Regions from separate parts of the Homo sapiens genome. Here all the other regions are linked to region 3. The links are contacts of gene promoters, found by promoter capture Hi-C in blood cells and fetal thymus (Javierre and others, 2016). All regions are on one chromosome and are shown on one strand. Each heading gives the region's core, a stretch centred on a gene start or on the middle of the fragment in contact. The rest is flanking DNA. Distances are from core to core; before and after follow the strand shown. Region 1 holds the start of FBXO4 (F-box protein 4). Region 2 holds the start of OXCT1-AS1 (OXCT1 antisense RNA 1). Region 3 holds the start of LOC105374745 (a long non-coding RNA gene).

Region 1 (2,700 bases), core at 164-2,663, 1.0 Mb after region 3:
AGTTAGTTACATAAATTAGTTAAGGAAATAATTTGTCCTTCAAAATAAAACCCATATCAACCTTTATCTGATTTTATCATCAGACCAAATCAAAGAGTGTACATTTGTCTTTTTCTTTTTTGAGACACAGTCTCGCTCTGTCGCCCAGGCTGGAGTGCAGTGGCAAGATCTCGGCTCACTGCAAGCTCCGTCTCCCAGGTTCACGCCATGCTCCTGCCTCAGCCTCCCAAGTAGCTGGGACTACAGGCGCCTGCCACCAAGCCCGGCTAATTTTTTATATTTTTAGTAGAGACGGGGTTTCACCGTGTTAGCCAGGATGGTCTTGATCTCCTGACCTCGTGATCCGCCCACCTGGGTCTCCCAAAGTGCTGGGATTACAGGCGTGAGCCACCGCGCCCGGCCGTAAATTTGTCATCTTAGTTCCTCTACAGAATCTATTAAAATGTTATGAAAAACCTCTGCAAGGAGAAACTTGGAGGCATTCTAAACCTGCAGCTTTCACGTTGATATACACATTGGAGAGAGGTGTCAATAGTCCAAATGAGACAAAGAATTGTAATAATTTTCAATAATTTTTGTTCTCTTCATTTACCTATCTACCCCAAAGTTTAACAATAAGTTATGTGTGTCATTCTCGTGGCCTTGATGTAACTTGAGGCACTTGTAACTTAAGTCATTTATTTTCAACTGAGGGGCCGTTTTGTTTCTTCAAATACACAATAACAGCCACAGGCACAATGTCCTCTTGAGAGGGTAAAAACCTTGGCCCTCCAAGTGTTTTGGTACAGTGATCCGGAATCAAAGACGCTGGGAACAGGGACGCTGGAATGCTTTCCCAAGCTAATCAGCAAGTTGGGAACTGTCTCATTTCCGTAACCGGACATTCAGGGTGTCCTAGTCACATGTGCCTGTTTTGGCGGGTGGAAAACCTGAGGGCGATCGGGAGGGTCCCCAGGGGCCCCATGAAGGTGCTTCCCTGAGATGTTCGGGCCCCCTGCGGAGCACCAGGGTCCACGCCAAGACGCTTCTGATCAACTGTAGCTTCTCGGTGACTACACTGCCAGGAATGGCTGCATGGACGGAGCCAGACCCAGGCCGGGGCGCGAGAGTTCCCCAGGCCCCGGGGGGCTCCAGGGGAGGTCCCTCCGGCCCGGGCCGGCCCCACTGTCCTCCGCGGCCTGCGGCCGACGCTCACCGGCAGCCGCGTCAGGGTGCTGGCCGCCTCATCCACCTCCTCCCGTGAGGTCGTACGCGCCACCCTCTCCTTGCTCACTGACTGCCAGAAGGTCTTCCAGCCGCTGAGGATGGCCGCCTCCAGGCGGCCCCAGTCGCTGAAGGGCGGCGGCGGCGAGTTTGTTCCGCTGCGCGGCTCGCTTCCCGCCATGGCTTGCCCGCAGCGTGGGTGACGCGTCTTAGAGCCACGCTAGCGCGTCAGCCTCCTGCGCAGCTCCGCGCCAGCCGAGGGCGCCCTCGGGCGTTCCGCCTCCCGCTTCTCCCGCGAGTCCGCCTCCAGGGCAGGGTTAGGCCCAGGGGCAAGGGCGGGTACTGGGAGGAAGCCCACTGTGCGTGGCTGTGAGCCGAGTACGAAGCTCCTGTCAACAATTAACTTCCCCAGTAACTTGTGGCCTCAACCTCAGCCACGCCAACCGCAGAGCCCCTGTACAACCTCTGGCCCGCTGACTTCCTGGCTTCATTCAAGATGTTCTCTCCGGGATCATTTCCACTATGCCTGGTCCTAGGCGACTCCGCTTGTTCGATAGACCTCTGCCACTGTCTTGGGCTTAATAACCACTTGCTTCCTTTTCAGCACTACCATACTACGTATGGGGTGTTTTTTGTGTGTGTTATTTCCTCAATCACCAAGTTACCATTTATTTTCTTGAGTATCAGCAAAAACAGACTAGAGAGGCAGTCAGCGGGCCAATTACAAAGAACCTTTTGCCAAAATGAGAAGTCTGGACCCACTATGCAAAAATATAAGCACATTTAAAATTTGCAAGGGCGGCAAAAAACGGCTAGAAGAACCCAGATGTGGTGGTGTTGAAATCCCACTAGTGAGTTTTTTAATTCTCAAACCAGATGCCCATTCTACTTACTTTGGGCTTACTTTAAAAGTGCTTTAAGAGAACGTATTACAAGTTAATCTGTTACATAGAACTGGGTATGTATACATTCAAAAAGTAAATCTCTGAGGATCTAAATGTCAACAGAATCCAAGAAAGCCTGATAACTAAGGTTCTGCAAGGCTCTGTAACATACAAGTTTAAGTTTCATTACATTTTATTATTTGCATGTTGTTGGTAGGGGCCAATAACCAATAAAATTGCAGCCTCGTTTTTGGGAGGCAATCTGGACAAGGACCACGGATTAACCATATGGCATTTCTCATCACTTTCTAGGACACGATTTACTTTGAGAGCAAAAAACGAACTAGAGCAAGAAAAAAAATCAGTTCAAGTATAAAGTATTAAAATGATATCTGTTAAATGAATGAGAAAAACTTTATTACGGAAAATTTTGAACATTTATAAAAGGAGAGTGAATAATATGCTCCTGTGTGCCCAGTATCCAAGATTCCATTACCAACACCTGGTTAATCTTGTGCTGTTGCTATACTCACCTAATACTACACCCCCAATTCTGGATCCTTTTGAAACAAATCCCAGACCTATCATCTGTAAATATCTCAGTATCCGTCCC
Region 2 (2,700 bases), core at 200-2,699, 1.1 Mb after region 3:
TAATCAAATAAAATGCTATTGAGCTTCCACTTGGTCTTTCCACTCTGCTAAGTGCAAAGACAGTTCTGGAGAAATCAGTCGTGGCTCATGTCCTCAAGGAGTTGGTCAAAAGACAAGGCTTGGCGAATATGTACGTGCCATGTCAATGAACTGCTACAATGGAATAAACTTATAATAATGCCTAACATTTATTGACTCCTCATAATAAGGCCATAAACTTTGCATGAATTAACTCATAGAAACGTTATGACGTTGTATCACAAGCAATCCTAATTTGCAGATGAGGACACTGAGGCTTAGGGAAGTTATCTAACTTGCCTAAGGTTAAAGCAATATACTGCTTTTATGGTTGCATCTTTAGTAATCTCTGGGGTTGCTGGGACTCCAGTGCGAGAAAGAGCCCGAAATTCGCAAACTTGGATGATGGGGAAGAAAAGGTGTGCTAAACTCAGGTCACAGAGGTCCAGTCTTAATCTTGTTCCTCTGCAAGCCTTGTTGCTCACACCTCTTGACCGACAGTTCGAGGCAAGTGCTCACAGCAAACTTACTCTATGTAAGCCAAGGCCAGATGTGGGGAGAAGGGGCTGAGAAATGTTAGAAACGTGAACGCAGTCCAGGCGGGAGAAGAGAAGGGGGCCTCGAGGGGTGCCCCTATGCAGCCCACACACACGCCAGGCACTAACTTGGAAAAGCAACAAGCTTGGCGGGAGATCCTCCCGCGGCCGGAGGGCCCTGAACCCTAGGCCAAGACTCATCCACAACCTAGGGGGAGGCGGCCACCAGCGCCCCATCGAAGCTAAAGGGCTGACAGAAGGGCTGTAGCGGCAAGTGTGCGCCAACACAGCTGCACACGCCCAGACACCTGAGGCGCTGAGAGGAACTTCCCCGCGATCCGCCCCGGCTGCACAGAGCCTCTTCTCCCCGCCGGGGCCCCGCCCAGCCTCACTTCTTTTAAAAGCAGCAGCCAGCAGCGCGCCGGTGGCGTGCGGCTCGAAAGGCCGGGAGGACGTCATCGACGCGCTGTCGAGCCTCCAGCCCGCCCGGGTTTCCTTCGCAGTCGCGCACCGACGCTCAAACGCGCGCTCCAACCCGCAGCCTCCTCCTGCCTCACCGCCCGAAGATGGCGGCTCTCAAACTCCTCTCCTCCGGGCTTCGGCTCTGCGCCTCTGCCCGCGGATCTGGGGCAACCTGGTACAAGGTAAAGTGCGGGGGAAGAGGAAGGCCATGGGCAGGAAGAACGTGGACCAAACCCTGAGTGGTGCCCGCGTTTTCTTCTCTGCCCCTACCCGCTCTCTCCAGCCTGGGATCTGGCATCCGTGGCGCGGTGCCCTGGTCACGGACACGCGGCGACGCGTTCCTGGCCTCGCCGGCCCCTCGGATGACCGCCTTTGCTTGGTTCTGCAGTCGCTTCCCTGATGGAGCGAGACGCGATAAAGAAGCGCGCGGAGAGGCTGAGAAGGGGCGGGAGGACTCCTGGCAGCGCTCCCGAGCCCTTTGGCGCTCGTCGGCTTCCCTCCTGGCACCCGCCCTTGGATAGGGACTCTGAGGGTCTGAACGGGGGGAGGAGGGCGCCAGTATATGGAGGTTTAGGAGTGAGGCAACAGCGGGTAGGTTTGCGCCCCCGATGTTGGATCTCTGGGCAGAGGAACCTCTAGAGGCCCAGAACCTGAGGCTGGGTTAGCCATGGCTCTGCTCGAGTTCACCGGGGCTGGATGCCGGGTGCGGCGGGTGTGGAATGCCGCTCCCATCCTCTCCTCCCTATTTGGCTCTGCTGCCCCGTAGACTGGAGCGCTCGCCAGGGCGTCTTGCCGGCCAAGCTGGGAAACCATCCGAGGTGTGTCCCTGGCCCGCGCCTGGGCTGCAGGGGAGGACAAACCTTTCTCTCGAGGCCCCTCGTATCCGGGTTAGGGGCTTTCGGTTTTCAGAGCCCTTTGAAATCCTTTTTGTGCCCCACTGCCGACTCTCCACCGAGTGGTATCCGGAGGCATTCCCACCGTGGACTGACTTGTGGTTTTGCCTTATGCACTGTCCTCGCTTGTAAGCCCACCCCTGTCTGGAGCCCTAGGAGCGAATTACAGGACCAGAGCGCCAGGTCCAGGAGGGTGGCTTTATCCCCGCCGTCTCAATCGCGGGAGCCTCTTCCTTGGTATTCAGTAATAGGTCTGAGCTTGACAGCGTGCCATGCACACGGTGCTTACTCCTGAAGCGTGCCTGCCTGGCCCCATTGCTCTTTCCTGCATCCAATCCCTGACCGCTGAGAACACAGAGGAGCCACTGAGCTCCTTCGGTAGGTGCTAGGGAATGGTTCAGAACTGGACCATTTTACTCTTAAATGCCTCTTAGGAAGCATTTTTATAACTGCAGATAGACTTGGATATATAAAGCATTATTAAAAGGGAACTTGACCTTCAGTGAGATTGCAGCGGTGCTGAAGCTAATACAAACCAGAGCACAGCGATACCCTTGGGCCGAGGTCAGGAACGTTCCTTCTTTTGACAGTTACTGATTTGCCCAACTGTAATTTACTCACTTCAAGTCTTTTCCATCTTGAGTATATCATTAAACCATTTCCGAAGCTCAGCAAACCTCATCTTAGAGGGACGAGATGCAAATAAGGGGTTCTGCTATATCTCATTAAAAGTTCATACAGAGTTCAAACTTAGCCCTGTCAGGCTTGATTATCATAGGTCTAACTCCTGC
Region 3 (2,759 bases), core at 67-2,566:
AAAAGAAAGAATGAAAGAAAGAAAAAGAAAGAAAGAAATAAAAGAAAGAAAAGAAAGAAGCAGAAATAAAAATATAACAGACTTCCCTAAGCCCGAAAAACAGCCTTGGGAATCGAGAGTGGGTAGAGGCCACAGCACTTTGGTAGCACGGAGCGCACCATGGGTCCATCGCTGCACGGCTCCTTTCCCGGCGCCAGCGGTTTCTTTCTTTTTTTTGAGACGGAGCTCACTCTGTCTCCCAGGCTGGAGTGCAGTGGCGCGATCTTGGCTCACTGCAACCTCTGCCTCCTGAGTTCAATCGATTCTTCTGCCTCAGCCTCCGGAGTAGCTGGGATTACAGGTGCCTGCCACCACAACCGGCTAATCTTTTGTATTTTAGTAGAGATGGGGTTTCACCTTGTTGGCCAGGCTAGTCTCCTGATCTCAAGTAATGCGCCCACCTCGGCCTCCCAAACTGCAAGGATCATAGGCGTGAGCCGCCGCGGTCGGCCGTGGCGCCGGCGGTTTCTCATTGCCATTGCTACTCCTTTGTCAGCGACAGCGGATGCTCTCTGGCCGCAACATTCTTTGCGCCAAAAGTTGTTTTTTTTGCAGCAGCGCAGGCATTTGCTGCGGGCAAGTGCTCGCCGGGTCCCATTGCCGCTGGTTCCCTTCCACACAACTTGTGAGTGTCCCCCCCACTCCCACAATCTAATCGGTTTAGGGAGCCAGAGGTTTCCCCGCGGCACTCTGCCTGTGGCGTCCGGCGAAGCCGGGGAATCCGCTGGAGGCAAGGCTGGTTTCACTGAGTCCGGCGTTTCTCCGTACCCGTACTGCTCTGCGCTCTGTGCTGGCCCAGGCGGGTCTCAGCACCGCTAGGTGCTGGGTAAAGGCATTGTCTGTTGTGGGTAGGATAGCCGTTAAGGGAGGACTAAAAGTTTCTAGCAGAGCCCAACTGGCGGTTTCTTGATCATATGAACACTAGCTCCGCGGAGCTGGATGTACTTCAGTGGCAGTGCATGTTTCTCTGTGGCATCCCCACAGCTGCCGTCCAAACTGCAGTGTTTCGCTGGCACCACTGCCACGTGGGTCACTTTCTTCAGTGGCTGCGCGGTTCCCTGCATCGAAGTCGCTTGTTTCTGATCCGCGCTTTCTCCCGGATGGCCGACCAGACGGTTTTCTGCTAGTTGTGCTACACATAGTTTCCTGGTCTCCGTGCGCCGCTTTCTCCATCCGAGACCCTCTAGTGCCGGTGTCACGGTCGCAGCACCTGGGGTTTCCATTGGCTGTTTTGCCTGTGGCGCGGAGTAGGCGGTTTTTCTGCCACAGCACTTGTCGTACGGAGTTTCTCGGTGGCCGAACCTCTCTTTTTTCTCAGAGTCGATGGTTTCTTGGTGACGGCGCCATTGGCTGCGTCAAAACGAATGTTGTCCTTGACAACCCCGCCGGCTGGCGTCACTCGCAGGCTCCCGGCACCACCATTTCGCCAGCCGAGGTCTCTCGGTCGCGGCACCGCTCGTTGGTCTGCGCCTCCATTTTCTCAGTGGCCGCAGCACCCAGGTTGCAGATGTGAGGGATTCGGTGTCGCAGCTGCCCCAGTTGCGCCCAGTTGCGCCTGGAGTTACCGGGCGGCGGCGGCGCTGGGCTGGGGGAGCCAGCCGCTCCTCGGGGCCGGTGGCAGGGGAGCTGCCGGGGCGCCTTCTCTTCCCAGCGCCGCCGCACGGACTGCGGCTCGGCCTCCAGAACCCAGTCCGGTGGCTGCGCTGCTGGGGTTTCTGTGACAGGACCCCACGGTTTCGGGCGTCGTTGGCTTCTTGGTCCTAGGAAGTTTCTATTTCGCGGTGCCTGCGATTTCTACCCCTTGTTCAAGTCGTGGAATAGTCACAATGTGATTTCTCAGCCCAATCAAGTTCCGACTTAGGACAAACACCGGTCTGGCCCTGGCTGCGATTTCTAGGTAGTAGGAAGTTACTGTTTCATCGTAACGAGGCTGAGTCACCCTGTGACTCACATCTCAGCAATTCCGGGTTTCCTGTAGCCTCGGAATTCTAATCCTAACAACCCCGGGTTAGCCCTGCCTCAAGTTCCTTAGTCATTGCAAGTTTCTTACTAGTAAGCTCTGCTTTAGCTGCTCAGGAGACGTTTAACTCCTGTAGAAATCTGGGTACCAGCGAATGCGGTTTTTTTTTTTTTTTTTGCTTAGCGATGACCAGTTTAGCAGGGCCTGGGAGCTCTTATACTAAGTTTGGTTTCACAATAGCGGGTCCCGCCTTAGCTAGGCCTGTGTTTTTTAAACTCCCCTGGAAGTCAGGAAATGCAGGCAAACGGGATTTTTCAGTTTTGCCAAGCCCCAGTTGACAATAGCAAGTCCCGCCGAAAGCGACTTTTTTTCCTACCATTTTATAGTCTAAGCTAAACAGGTTTAACCATGACTGTTATTTATTTATTTATTTAATTTGGTAGGAAATTTAGACTTAGGTGTAACATGTACTGGTTTAGATCGGATAGGGATATCCTAATCGTAGGATTGCATTACAAACATTTGTAATTTCTTCTTTGTAGGAATGGTTGTCAGCAATTTTTGCTTATTTTTTAATTGTCTTTTTGTGTCTTGCTCTGAGAACGACATTACCGATGTGCTTGCCTTTCATTTCTACTTGCATTTTAGGCTTCTATTATTTTTAAATTGTATTTCTATTTAAATGTTATGTATTTTTTTCTACTGATTTTAAATGTCTCAGCTTCGTGCTCCTTGACTTGCATGCTCAGGACGCGGGGAG

The links. The method cuts DNA at HindIII sites, captures the fragments that hold promoters and counts their contacts. A CHiCAGO score of 5 or more calls a contact.
Region 1: the fragment with the promoter of FBXO4 here is called in contact with a fragment that was not itself captured in region 3 in 4 of 17 cell types (monocytes, M0 macrophages, total B cells and 1 more); the score reaches 6.7 in monocytes.
Region 2: the fragment with the promoter of OXCT1-AS1 here is called in contact with a fragment that was not itself captured in region 3 in 1 of 17 cell types (total CD8 T cells); the score reaches 6.6 in total CD8 T cells.

What each region holds. Positions count from the first base shown.
Region 1 is chr5:41,923,994-41,926,693 of GRCh38, reverse strand. FBXO4 (F-box protein 4) reads right to left here and starts at 1,413. Exons shown (of 7, transcript NM_012176.3): 1 at 1,196-1,413. The coding sequence starts at 1,384. RefSeq lists a silencer at 976-1,155. The HindIII fragment of the contact is 6,278 bases long and covers 1-2,700 here.
Region 2 is chr5:41,868,779-41,871,478 of GRCh38, reverse strand. It overlaps OXCT1-AS1 (OXCT1 antisense RNA 1), which reads right to left and starts at 1,449. Exons shown (of 3, transcript NR_046635.1): 1 at 1,287-1,449; 2 at 1,097-1,188; 3 at 1-713. It overlaps OXCT1 (3-oxoacid CoA-transferase 1), which reads left to right and starts at 1,054. Exons shown (of 17, transcript NM_000436.4): 1 at 1,054-1,198. The coding sequence starts at 1,121. LOC102723752 (a long non-coding RNA gene) reads right to left here. Exons shown (of 3, transcript XR_925956.4): 1 at 1,877-2,700. RefSeq lists enhancers at 458-507, 1,338-1,417. The HindIII fragment of the contact is 3,584 bases long and covers 702-2,700 here.
Region 3 is chr5:42,950,045-42,952,803 of GRCh38, reverse strand. It overlaps LOC105374745 (a long non-coding RNA gene), which reads right to left and starts at 1,915. Exons shown (of 3, transcript XR_925964.3): 1 at 1-1,915. RefSeq lists enhancers at 952-1,221, 1,001-1,522, 1,901-2,045, 1,523-2,045, 2,022-2,081 and 2 more, a silencer at 1,632-1,731 and a cis regulatory region at 1,968-1,978. The HindIII fragment of the contact is 4,864 bases long and covers 1-2,759 here.